Linked DNA regions of Homo sapiens: all the other regions are linked to region 4. The links are contacts of gene promoters, found by promoter capture Hi-C in human tissues and cell types (Jung and others, 2019). All regions are on one chromosome and are shown on one strand. The core of a region is centred on a gene start or on the middle of the fragment in contact, and the rest is flanking DNA. Distances in the headings are between cores, read along the strand shown. Region 1 has its middle 11 kb from the start of DNAH9. Region 2 overlaps DNAH9 (dynein axonemal heavy chain 9). Region 3 overlaps SHISA6 (shisa family member 6). Region 4 holds the start of ZNF18 (zinc finger protein 18).

What was found. Contacts are between HindIII fragments. The study calls those that stand out against the background at their distance.
Region 1: a contact is called between a fragment that was not itself captured here and the fragment with the promoter of ZNF18 in region 4, in 1 of the 25 tissues and cell types used here (spleen).
Region 2: a fragment that was not itself captured here is called in contact with the fragment with the promoter of ZNF18 in region 4 in 1 of the 25 tissues and cell types used here (H1 embryonic stem cells).
Region 3: a fragment that was not itself captured here is called in contact with the fragment with the promoter of ZNF18 in region 4 in 1 of the 25 tissues and cell types used here (heart left ventricle).

What each region holds. Positions count from the first base shown.
Region 1 is chr17:11,585,699-11,588,398 of GRCh38, forward strand. No RefSeq gene overlaps it. Among named protein-coding and RNA genes, the nearest start is that of DNAH9, 11 kb to the right of the region's middle. The HindIII fragment of the contact is 7,192 bases long and covers 1-2,700 here.
Region 2 is chr17:11,604,819-11,607,518 of GRCh38, forward strand. The region is part of intron 1 of DNAH9 (dynein axonemal heavy chain 9); the gene reads left to right. Among named protein-coding and RNA genes, the nearest start is that of DNAH9, 7.7 kb to the left of the region's middle. The HindIII fragment of the contact is 5,283 bases long and covers 1-2,700 here.
Region 3 is chr17:11,559,672-11,562,447 of GRCh38, forward strand. SHISA6 (shisa family member 6) reads left to right here. Exons shown (of 6, transcript NM_207386.4): 6 at 1-2,776. Among named protein-coding and RNA genes, the nearest start is that of DNAH9, 37 kb to the right of the region's middle. The HindIII fragment of the contact is 4,369 bases long and covers 1-2,776 here.
Region 4 is chr17:11,996,179-11,998,878 of GRCh38, forward strand. ZNF18 (zinc finger protein 18) reads right to left here and starts at 1,297. Exons shown (of 7, transcript NM_001303281.2): 1 at 1,253-1,297. RefSeq lists a silencer at 996-1,445 and enhancers at 1,378-2,361, 1,476-1,715, 1,786-1,865. The HindIII fragment of the contact is 7,782 bases long and covers 1-2,700 here.

The DNA.
Region 1 (2,700 bases), core at 136-2,635, 410 kb before region 4:
TGAAAATACTTGGGCTCACCTGGCCAGCTCAGAGGTGAACATACTTTTTCATGCTTTTGATAGTGCATCTATTAATTCATTTACTCATGTACTTGCAAATGAATATTTCATATATTTCACAAATTTATAATCCCAGTACCACCAGAAGAGTTGACTCTCTTGACCTATAAGATGTGTGATTTCCTCCCAAATCAAGGGGATTACATCTAAGAAGGAAAGTTGACATCAACCCCCAAGAATTCCTGCAATCACAAAAAGGAGAAGAAGGTGTGTTTTCTGCACTGTTTCTTGTTCTGCCCACCCGTATCCTAGGGTGGGAAATGTACAGTTACACTCTATAGATTATTATAATTAAGTAGTGTGTGGAATTTGTTTTAAAAATAGCTTCATCAACTCTTCATAGCATATTTCTGTAAGACAAGTACAGGTGAAAAGCAAGCGAGGGTTGTTATTGTTTAGCACATTTAATTAAGTAAGTATTTCTTTCATCCTTCTGGGAATTAAACATTGAACAGTGAATAAACACAGGGAAATCTGCCCATATTAATTTCTGGCTTACTGCCTTAATTCAAAAGCAGGGTGAAAATCAAGAGCTAAGTCTGTGATCTGGGGTCATTATGTGCTAAGCAAAGCAATTGAAGGTTTACCCTTTACATCTCCGATAGAAGTTATTTCAGGAAATATCTTCTTTTATGTTCTCGCTCTCAACTACCTCCTTGATGGCCTCCTTCTCCTTTATAAATAAACATCATCTCTCCTCGTTCTTGAAGAAATTTTTCTTTACGTGTCACCTGCATCAGTTGTAATTTTTGTTTAACAGGGACAGAAACACCTCAAACTGGCTAACTGGAGAGAGAATGTCTTGGTTTATGCAAATGAAAAGTCTAGTCTTGCAGGCTGCATGTAGAGCTCAAAAATGTCATCAGGGGCCGGGCGCGGTGGCCCACGCCTGTAATCCCAGCACTTTGGGAGGCCAAGGCGAACGTATCACGAGGTCAGGAGATTGAGATCACTCTGGCTAACACCGTCTCTACTAAAAATACAAAAAATTAGCCGGGAATGGTGGCATGCACCTGTAGTTCCAGCTACTCTGGAGGCTCAGGCAGGAGAATCATTTGAACCCAGGAAGCAGAGGTTGCAGTGAGCTGAGATTGCACCACTGCTCTCCAGCCTGGGTGACAGAGTGAGACTCTGTCTCAAAAAAAAAAAAAAAATGTCATCAGGAACTGCTTCCTCTTCTCTGTCCCTTGCCTCTACTTCCCTTGTCTTGGCTCCATTTTCAGATAACCCTTCCCCTCATGGAGTCAAGAGGGTCACATTGGCTCTGTCCTACATCCTCCTAGGTTCAAGTCCAGTGGAAAATAGAAAATACTAGTTTATTCCAACATTCAAACCAAAGCTTAGGTCTGACTCTAATGTCCTGATAGGATCATATGGCCATTACCACATTGATGACTGTGACCAGAAGAAAGAATGATCCAAGTTTAGGCCAAGTCACATGCTTCAGCCATAGTACTGGGGGTTGAACCCTACCAGAAGTACCTGGACTAGGGCGGGGAAGGAGGCTGTCAAGAAGGTGGATATAGTTTCCACAACAAAAAGTGGTGAGTAGTTACTAGAAGAAGAGTGTATGGATTTGTTACAGCAAAGCACTTCTGAGTTTTATTTAATGAAACTGAGGCTGCTTTATATCCTTCCCATCTTGAGTCCTTCTCAACTGTGAGATTTGGTAGTTTCTAATCCAAACTAGAAGTCAGCAAACTTTTTCTGTAGAGTCAGATAATTAATTTTTTAGGTCTTGTGGGCCATACATTCTCTGCATAATTACAACTATTCAACTCTGCACTTTCAGTGTGAAATAAGTCATAGATAATGTATAAATGAATAGCCATGGCTGTGTTCCAATAAAACTGTATTTTCAGTATTGGCTGGTGGGTTGAATTTAGCCCATGGGCTATAGTTTGCTAACCCCTGATTGTTAATCATGGGTCCTAAGTATGAGAAGGAGTCAAAATAATATTTTACCCTCCTCTCCTCCAGCTTAACCATACCCCACGTTCTCCATTCTCATCACCTTTCTACAATCAGAAACAGAAACTCCCATAAACCACTGAGACTGAACATTGATCAAATTATGGGAAGTACATATTAGAAGTCAGTAGATAGTCATATTAATGCCGTATGAAGGTACATTTTCCATGGTCTCAAAACTCAGATTAAAAAAAAAAAAAGACTGAGAGACAAAATAGACAAATGAACAATGGCTAAGCCATATATAAAAAATAGAACTCACCTCACAATCTGTAGCAGCCAGTCTAGGAGGTCAAACAAGAACCCCTGTATTTATTGACTCAAATGGTCAGGATTTGATTAATAATTGATAGCTTCTGGAAGAGGTGGAGTTGTGGGGGTTCAAGTAAAAAATATTATATTCAAAAAAAATTTGGTATCTTCTCTAATTTTTGTCCCCAAACTTAGGGCCAACTGACGAAAGCCAAACAAGTTCCCCTAACCAATCACATGGATGTTCTGCTTCCACTGAACCAACTCCAGCTTCCACAGGCCAAAGGCCTCCAATCAGGGCACACATGAAGCCTTCCCTTCTTTCTGCTACAAATCTTTCCCACTCCTCTGCTTGCCTTTGAATCTATACCAAAATGTAAGTGATGGCAGCTGACTCTTTTGACATAGCCTTTGCTT
Region 2 (2,700 bases), core at 42-2,541, 390 kb before region 4:
ACCGTCTTCTGTATTATAGCACCAACTTGGTAGGTGGCCTCCCTTTCCACCTTTGCCCCTTAGAGCCTATAATCACGGCAGCTTGGTTGATCCTACTCAAAACGATCTCAGCCTATGGCACTCCTTTGCTCAAAACTTTCAATGATGTCCATTTCTCTGAGAGTAAAAATCAAAATCTCACAGGCAAGGCTGCATGTGAATTGACTCCCTTTACTCTCACCTATTCTTTGGGATCACTCTGTCCCCGCTTTCCTTGCTTCCACACTGCTCCTTGATCAGACCAAGCATGCTTCCACCTCGGGGCCTTTGCACTGGCTGTTCCTTCTCCCTGCAATATACTTCTCCCAAGGATCTGCAAAGCACTCCCCCTATCCTTCCCAGCCTTTGTTCAAATCTTATCTTCTCAGTCAGGCCAACCTCAACATTTACAATTGCAGCCCCTCCACCCCACACTCCTGATTCCCTTCACATGCTTTATCTTTATTCACAGAACTTACTGTTTCTTGACTGTCTCTCCCTTAGAATATAAGCTTCATGAGGTCAGAAATTTTTGACTGTTTTGTTCACGGGTGTATCCTCCTAGCACCTAGAAAAGTACCAGCACATAATAGATGCTCAGTAAATACTCATTGAATAAATGAATGAGTAGCTTTTTGGTCTGTTGTTGTTGTTGTTGTTGTTGTTGTTGTTGTTGTTTCGAGACAGGGTCTCACTCTGTTGCCCAGGCTGGAGTACAGTGGCACGATTTCAGCTCACTGCAGACTCGACCTCCCTGGGCTCAAGCGATCCTCTCACCTCAGCCTCCTTAGTAACTGGGACTACAGACATGCGCCACTACAACCGGGCAATTTTTCTATTTTTTTTTTTGTACAGATGAGGTCTTGCTATGTTGCCCAGGCAGGTCTCCGACTCCTGGGCTCAAACAATCTGCCCTCCTCAGCCTCTCAGTGCTGGGATACAGGCGTGAGCCACCGCACCTGGCTATGAGTTGCTTTTCACTTCATAGAGAGTTCACATTCGTTATTTTTCTGTCACTCAAAGCCCTTAAAACCCCCACTCAAAACTATTCCTTTTTCTTCAGACAGTGTACATTCAGTTATTTGATAAACATCTTGAGTGCTTTCTATATGCCAGATCCTGGAGAGAACTCTGACTATATAAAAATTAAATAAGATAGAGTCCCTGCCTTTGAGATCCTAGGAAAATTCCAGTTCATCCTCTTTCCCGGTTAGGACTTCTGCCCTGGGTTCAAATGGTTCTTTCTTAACATGAATGTGATAAAGCTTAATTTGTAAACTTTCCTTCCTTTTTGAGCTCCCTTTACTGATTGTTGTAAGTTCCCAGCTCAGTGAATGTTTCCAGACAGACCAGGCAAAGACCATCCTCTAGAATCTAACATGCTGGGTCCAGGTATTCTATTTCACGGCCACTGGGGCTTATTGATCATAACCCAGCCAGTCATATGAGTTCATATTTCCTTTTGATTATTTATATATTGGTAGCTTCCTCATCACATTATATGAGCATCTGTTTGTCTTTCTGGTATTCTCCTTCCATCACTTGTGAGATTTTGACAGTCAAAGATTCCGGGTGAGTTTACTGACAACTTTCTTTCTTTTCTTTTCTTTTCTTTTCTTTTTTTTTTTTTTGAGACAGAGTCTTGCTCTGTCTCCAGGCTGGAATGCAGTGGTGCAATCTCGGCTCACTGCAACCTCCGCCTCCCGGGTTCAAGCGATTCCCCTGCCTCAGCCTCCTGAAGTAGCTGGGACTACAGGCACGTGCCACCACACTCGGCTAATTTTTTGTATTTTAGTAGAGACAGGGTTTCACCATGTTGGCCAGGATGGTCTTGATGTCCTGATCTCGTGATCTGCCCACCTCGGTATACTGACAAGTTTCTAAGTTGCGATTAATAGAAACCTAATTTAAACTAGCTTGGAAAGTTCAAGAGCAGCTTGATTTAGGAGCTCAAACAAAGTTACCAAGACTTGGTCTTTCTCCATCTGTAAGCACTCTCCTCTCATATTAACTTTATTCTAAGGCGCTATTGGTTGTGAAGGTGACCAAGAAAAGCTCCACACTAGCAGAAAAGAGAAGGTGTCTCTTCCTTGAAAAGTCACATAAGACACTTTGGCCTGACTCTCACTGGCTCAGATTTGGTTCCATGTTCACCTATGGATTTGGGGATGAATACTGAAAAAAGAGGAACTATGTTGGGTGGCCAGAATAACCTAACGTTCACCCTAAAGATGGATTCAAGATCCTCAACTTTGCTTGCCTTTTCAAGGTGCCCTTCCCACCACCTGTAGACAGAAGGTCATGTTTATCTGCTTGTGTCCTCCTTTTTTGCCTCTGGCCTTTGTGACTATTTAATCACCTCCTATTCACCCCGTTGATGAGGGAGGGATTCCTGCCTGAGAGTGATGGAGATGGGTAAACATACAACACCCAACATAGGACAGACACCATTGACAGCAGTTTTTCAGTCAACATACTCACAGCCCAGAAGAGGACACTGAGCCATGCAGGCCACATGGGGATTGCTCTTGGGAACAGACTAAATGACAAGGGGCTGTGGAAAGCACACTTTGTATTAATAGTATCAAGAAGGTGTAGTGGTCCCTGGATCTCACTGGGGGACGCAATTGGCTAGTTTAAATCATTCCACCAGCTGGCAGGGAACTGAAGTCTGCTTCTCAG
Region 3 (2,776 bases), core at 226-2,725, 440 kb before region 4:
GGGCAGGTCCCCACAGCATCATCCCTTTGTGCAGGCACTGGGGTACCTGGTAGACCATGGTCCTCAGCTCTGTTGGGGGACCGCCACTGCCCGCCCACCTCAGCCTCTTCCCCGCCTCCAGCCTGGGGGTTGGCATGGTGTGACGGCCTCCTGGGGAGGTGACAGTGAATTCAGCAGCATCCGCTCCCCCAAGACCAGAGAGCCTGGTGGGGGAAAGAAGGGGTTCCCTCATTCTCAGGGCCAGGGCACCCGCTGGGTTGGGGCTGGGGGAATCAACTCCAGGCTATTGGGTGAAGGTGTGATCCTAAAAACAGTCAGATCCAACAGCAGTGCCCTTATAAATGGGGTTTTACCTGCCCTCAGTTCTGCACTCATGGCCCTTTAAAAAGGCGAGTGTAGAAGGAGAATTTATTGGTGTCAGCCCTGGAGATTTTTAATCTAACCAAGTCCACAAACCACAGAGAAAGCAATGGACTGTGTCCTTTCACTGATTTCAAGAGTTCCAAAGCTCTCATCTCCTTCTCCCCTCTGCAGGGTGTGCCTCCCAACAGGAACAGGAAACCATCACCCTGGATCTTAGGGGGATGGAGGCTGGGGGTTGTGAAAGCCACTGTCAGACCCCACACTGGGGATGCATTCCTGGAGTCGTGCGGCTGGAAGGCCAGGGACTACCCTCTCTGCTTTCCTCCCAACAGACACATAAACCTTCTTAAGGGCTGGTCCCCAGGGGTTTATAAGAGTTTGTTCCAGAAGGTGAGGCTAAGAGGGTTGGAAAGGAAGAAGTGAGTCTGAATAGAGCAGGTGGCTCCCAGCTGGGCCCCTGAGCCCAGCACCTTTGAATCGTCTAATCTGTGGCCATCCCTTGGAAGGCAGGATGCTGGTGGTGAGGGGAAAGGACCTGAGTGGCTGAGAATGCCCTTCCCAGGTGTCTACATGCAGGTATACACCAAACCAGAAAGCTGATCCCATCTCCAGTGTCAAAGCTTCTCAGCACCAAGTTCTCCAGCCCCCAGGGTGACACTTTTCCCCAGGGGTCCTCCCCAAGCCCTGTCTCTGACAGGGTTTCTGTCTCTCTCAGGGGTTGTTGATGAGTTGATTCCAAGACATTTCTCATCCCAGCCTTACCACTGTCTGGCTGAAAGGCTCTGATGTCAGTTGGGTTGGAAAATTCTACTGCAATGCTTACTTCTTTTCAAGGATTTCTTCTGCTTCACCTTTGGGTCTAGAAGCAAGGAATGAAGGGAGGGAGAGAGGGAGGGAGGGAGGGGAGGAGGGAAGAAAAAAGAAGTAGAGATAGGTCTACAGACTTGCTCCAATTCAGTCCCACATTTCAAAATCCAGAAAACTATGTCATAGCTGGGACAGAGAGGTATCCCATTTATTCAGCTGTCCCATCCATCTTCATGGAACAAGCAAAGCCACATCAATAGGCAAGTTCACGTAGCAGATAAAAGAGGCTTCTGGGGCTGGAACCTAGATGCCATGATTTCTAGCCCAACCAGGCTGGTGGCCTCTACCATACATAGAAGTACCATCCACCCTTACAGTAAAAGCCTCCCTCCTGCTCACAAAGGAAGCCTAAAGCCCAAGATTTCCCTCTCCTTGTTTTATTCATTTTTGCACATCTCTGTTGCTCTAACAGAAATGAACTGGAATCTGCACAGGTTCTCTCCTGCCCTGAAAGTTCTGCCTGGTTTCCTTGGCCTCTGATGGCATTGAAGCTTTCACAATCCCTCCTGCATCTCCACCTTCCCTGTCTTGCTCCAGGCTCCTGGCTCCATGCCTTCCTGTGTCAAAAAGGCTTTGCCAAGAATTACTTCACCTCCTAACCAGGCTTCTGCCCTCAGGGCTCCCCCAGTGTCTTGGGAGTGTCTTGGGCCACACGACTGCCTCTTAGAAAGTTCCAACCTTGCCCCCAATTCAAATTTCTCCTCCCCTCTTTCCACTCTCCCTCCCAGAAACTCCTGATTTCCAGAAAACCTCAGATTTCCAGGCCAGGTCACTCATTCCTTCCTCTCATCTCCCTCTTCCTCCATCTACCTTCCTCCATTCACCTTCCTCCATTCCTAATTTCTTTTCCCTGGTCTTGCTATAATCTCCAGCTCTAAAAATCAGAGCTCTCAATGAAAACAATGGAAGAATAAGACATTCTTTCGGTCTTCTGTTTGCCTCACTGGTGTATCCTTCATCTCCTGCCCCTGTGAGTTGATACCCCAGTGCACGGAGCCAAGGGCTTTTCCCCTCTGAGCTCTGGGAGGGAAGGGAATGGAGCTCTGGGTTTGAGATGTCATGGCCTGTGATAGTCAGTTTGGTTCCTGCCACTAGCAAGTCCCCTGAAGCTCCCAACCCAGCCTGATGTTAGCCCAGAAGCTCCTGCTCTGGCCAAAGACTCCTATCCTTGAGGGCTCTCAGCCACTGCTCCAACACACTTGCCCCCTTCCTGCTTGTGTATGTCACTTATCCTCCTTTGTCCACAAAGACTTGAGGGCCTCCTGAGTCTCCAAGCATGGAGGAATATCCATGCCAACATCCCTGCCATCAAACTCAATCCATTTTCTTCAGAGATACCTTGTCTGTCACCAGCCTCCAACTTCATATTCCTTCCACAGGCAACTGTGCACTTGACCCAAGGTAAAATGAAAGGGCTGCCAATCACTCGGACTCCAGAAGGTGCCTGCCCTGAGAAGAGCTGGCATGTTACCTCCCACATACATTTCCTGTCATCCTGTCCGAATCTGGGAAATTTTGCTCTGGAGTATTTTCAAGAAAGCGCATT
Region 4 (2,700 bases), core at 47-2,546:
AGCATTATCAAACCACCTGAAAAGCAGCTTTAGCTCAGAGGTAAACCTACAGTTTCAAATAACATCTTAAAAAACGAATAAATATATTTTTAAAAATACCTTGCTTTGTAAATCCAACCTATTTGGCTCAAGAGTTTCAAATAACAAGCGGCAAGATTTTAGATAGCAAGATACCGACCTGTAAACTTACTGCAATTTATCTGTTTCCTAAATTAAGATAGCAGTTTAGATAATATTTAAGAGAAATGACATTTTGGAAAAACTACAGATTTTATAAAATACTTAAATCTTTTGTTAGTAATATTATACTCCCAGGTAGTGTGTAAGAAAAATGTCTCGATTATTCAAAATTAAATTACTTTATATAGTATTAAAAATTTAATAGAGTTTATATTCCGATAACCTCATGAGGAACTGCCCCCATTAGTTATGAAAAAAAAATAAGGTTGTCTGTTATACCTGTTATTAAACCTTTAACAAATAGAATGAATTTTTAAAAGTGCATTCTAGGTGTAATATACACAAGTGGTTACATACATGGTTACATATATAAGTAACCATTTGTTAAGCACCTACTACGTATCGGCTCATTATTAAGCTCGGTTCATGTATTTCCAATTCCCACAATTACCCTGGTGTACAGATCAGGAACCTCCGAGGCTCACAAGTGGCAGCCAGATTAACCCAGGAAGCTCTAAAGCCTTTGCTTTGGGGAGAACTGCCAACGTCTGGTGATTTGTTGGGGCGTTTTCTGGTTGTCACAAGCAGCTAGGGGAACTGGCATTTAGTGCTCGAGGCCAGGGCAGCGCTGCTCATTGGATATGTATTCTCCACCATGCGCCCCCCAAATGCCGACTGCACTCTGATGAGAGAGGGAGAGACTCCAGGCATCATCCCATCGGGTTTCCTCTTCCAGAGACTCATTTTCAGCCCTTAGGGGAAGACAGCGGGGAGGAGCCCGTTTTCGGTCCCAGTGCAGAGACCCGGCCGGTCCCGCGGGGCGCAGAGGCGCAGGAATGCAGAGCCGGGACGGGGTTCACACATCCCCCCGCACCCACGGTCCACTCCCAGCCATGGCTGCCCCGGCCCCGCACTCGCCACGTCCCCCGCGCGCTCCCAGACGCATGGGCAAGGGAGCCCGCTGGCCCCTCCGTAGCTCCGGGGTGCCCAGCTGAGTCAGGTGCGGACGCAGATAGCGCAAGGCCTGACCCCGAGCGGCCGGAGGCCGGGACCGCCCCGCAAGCGCGCTCACCTCGGCCCGCGGCGCCGGCTCCGGGCGCACTTCCGGGAGCTGGGTGGCTGCGCGCGCCTCAGGCGGCAGGCGAACGACGTGCGGCACCGGGCGGAGCTAGGGGGCGGGGGCGGAGCTGATACCGAAGCTCCTATTGGCCGTCGGGGACGCCCCGCCTCTCTCTGGCGTTGCAGCCCAGGAGCCTCCACCGACATGGCAGCGAGGTTCCCGAGCCAACGCCATCCTCCGTTCCTTCCGTCACTCACTCACTAATCACTGTTCCTGAGTTCCTTCACTTCTCACCCGTCATTTATTGCGCACCTATTCTGTGCCAGGCACTCGGCCAAGCACTGCGAGGCCTTCAAAGATCATTTCTTTGTCTCTCCCAAACCCTTCCGCCCAGTCCCACCCGCAGAGCTGCAACGCTCTGCCATTATCCCTGATTCTTAACCGCCGCCTTTCTCCTTTCCGTTCTTGCCTCACTGGGCCTCCCTGAGACACTTGATTTGCCCCAACCTTCTTCCTCTGTCTTGGTTCTCCCACTCTCATCAGCTCTGCATCCCCTGGGTCCTCTCCCACTTCTCCCCATTCCGTTGGGGCTAGTCCAATGTGGTGCCATCCTCTTTCCACCTGCGTCTCTCTCTCTTCTCTCTCTCTCTCTCAACAAATGTCATCCCTGACTCTTCCCTTCTCCTTCCCTTTCCCACACGCCAACAATGGCTGAATCCTCTGATTTGACCTCATTGTCTCTCAGACACCTCACCCTCTCTCCCTTCTCACTATCCCTCCCTCGGCTCAGTTCCACACCATTTGTAATGGTCAAGACCTTCTTACCCTTTCCCCAGCGTCCAGTGTTGCCGGTTTCCAGGCCATCCTGTGCTGGGCCACGACATCAACTTGTGATACTAAGTTGCATTAATGGAAGTATCATGTCAAAGTTTGGGTGTTCCACCTTGGGCAACTGGCAAAGAGGAGGGTATTCAAAAAAAGCTGCCATGTTCCCCAATAACCTATGGAAATAAAATAAATAAAAAATAAAAATTTAAAGAAGAGCTGTCATTATCATAACATGTCCTGTACCTGTCATTATCATAACATGTCCTGTACCTGTCATTATCATAACATGTCCTGTACCTGTCATTATCATAACATGTCCTGTACCTGTCATTATCATAACATGTCCTGTACCTGTCATTATCATAACATGTCCTGTACCTGTCCCATGTTTACAAGAATTAAAGATCCTCCTCTGGAGAAATAAAGCTTGATGCGGGGATGGGATTACATCTTCATGTACCTGAAAAGTGACCAGCGGAAAAGGGATTCGACATGTTCTCTTAAGTCCCAGGGTCTGAACAAGATCCTATGTGTGAAACTACTGTTTCAGCCTGACATAGGTGGAAGTTTCTAGTCTTTTTTTTTTTTTTTTTTTTTTTTTGTATTTTTGGTGGAGACGGGGTTTCACCATG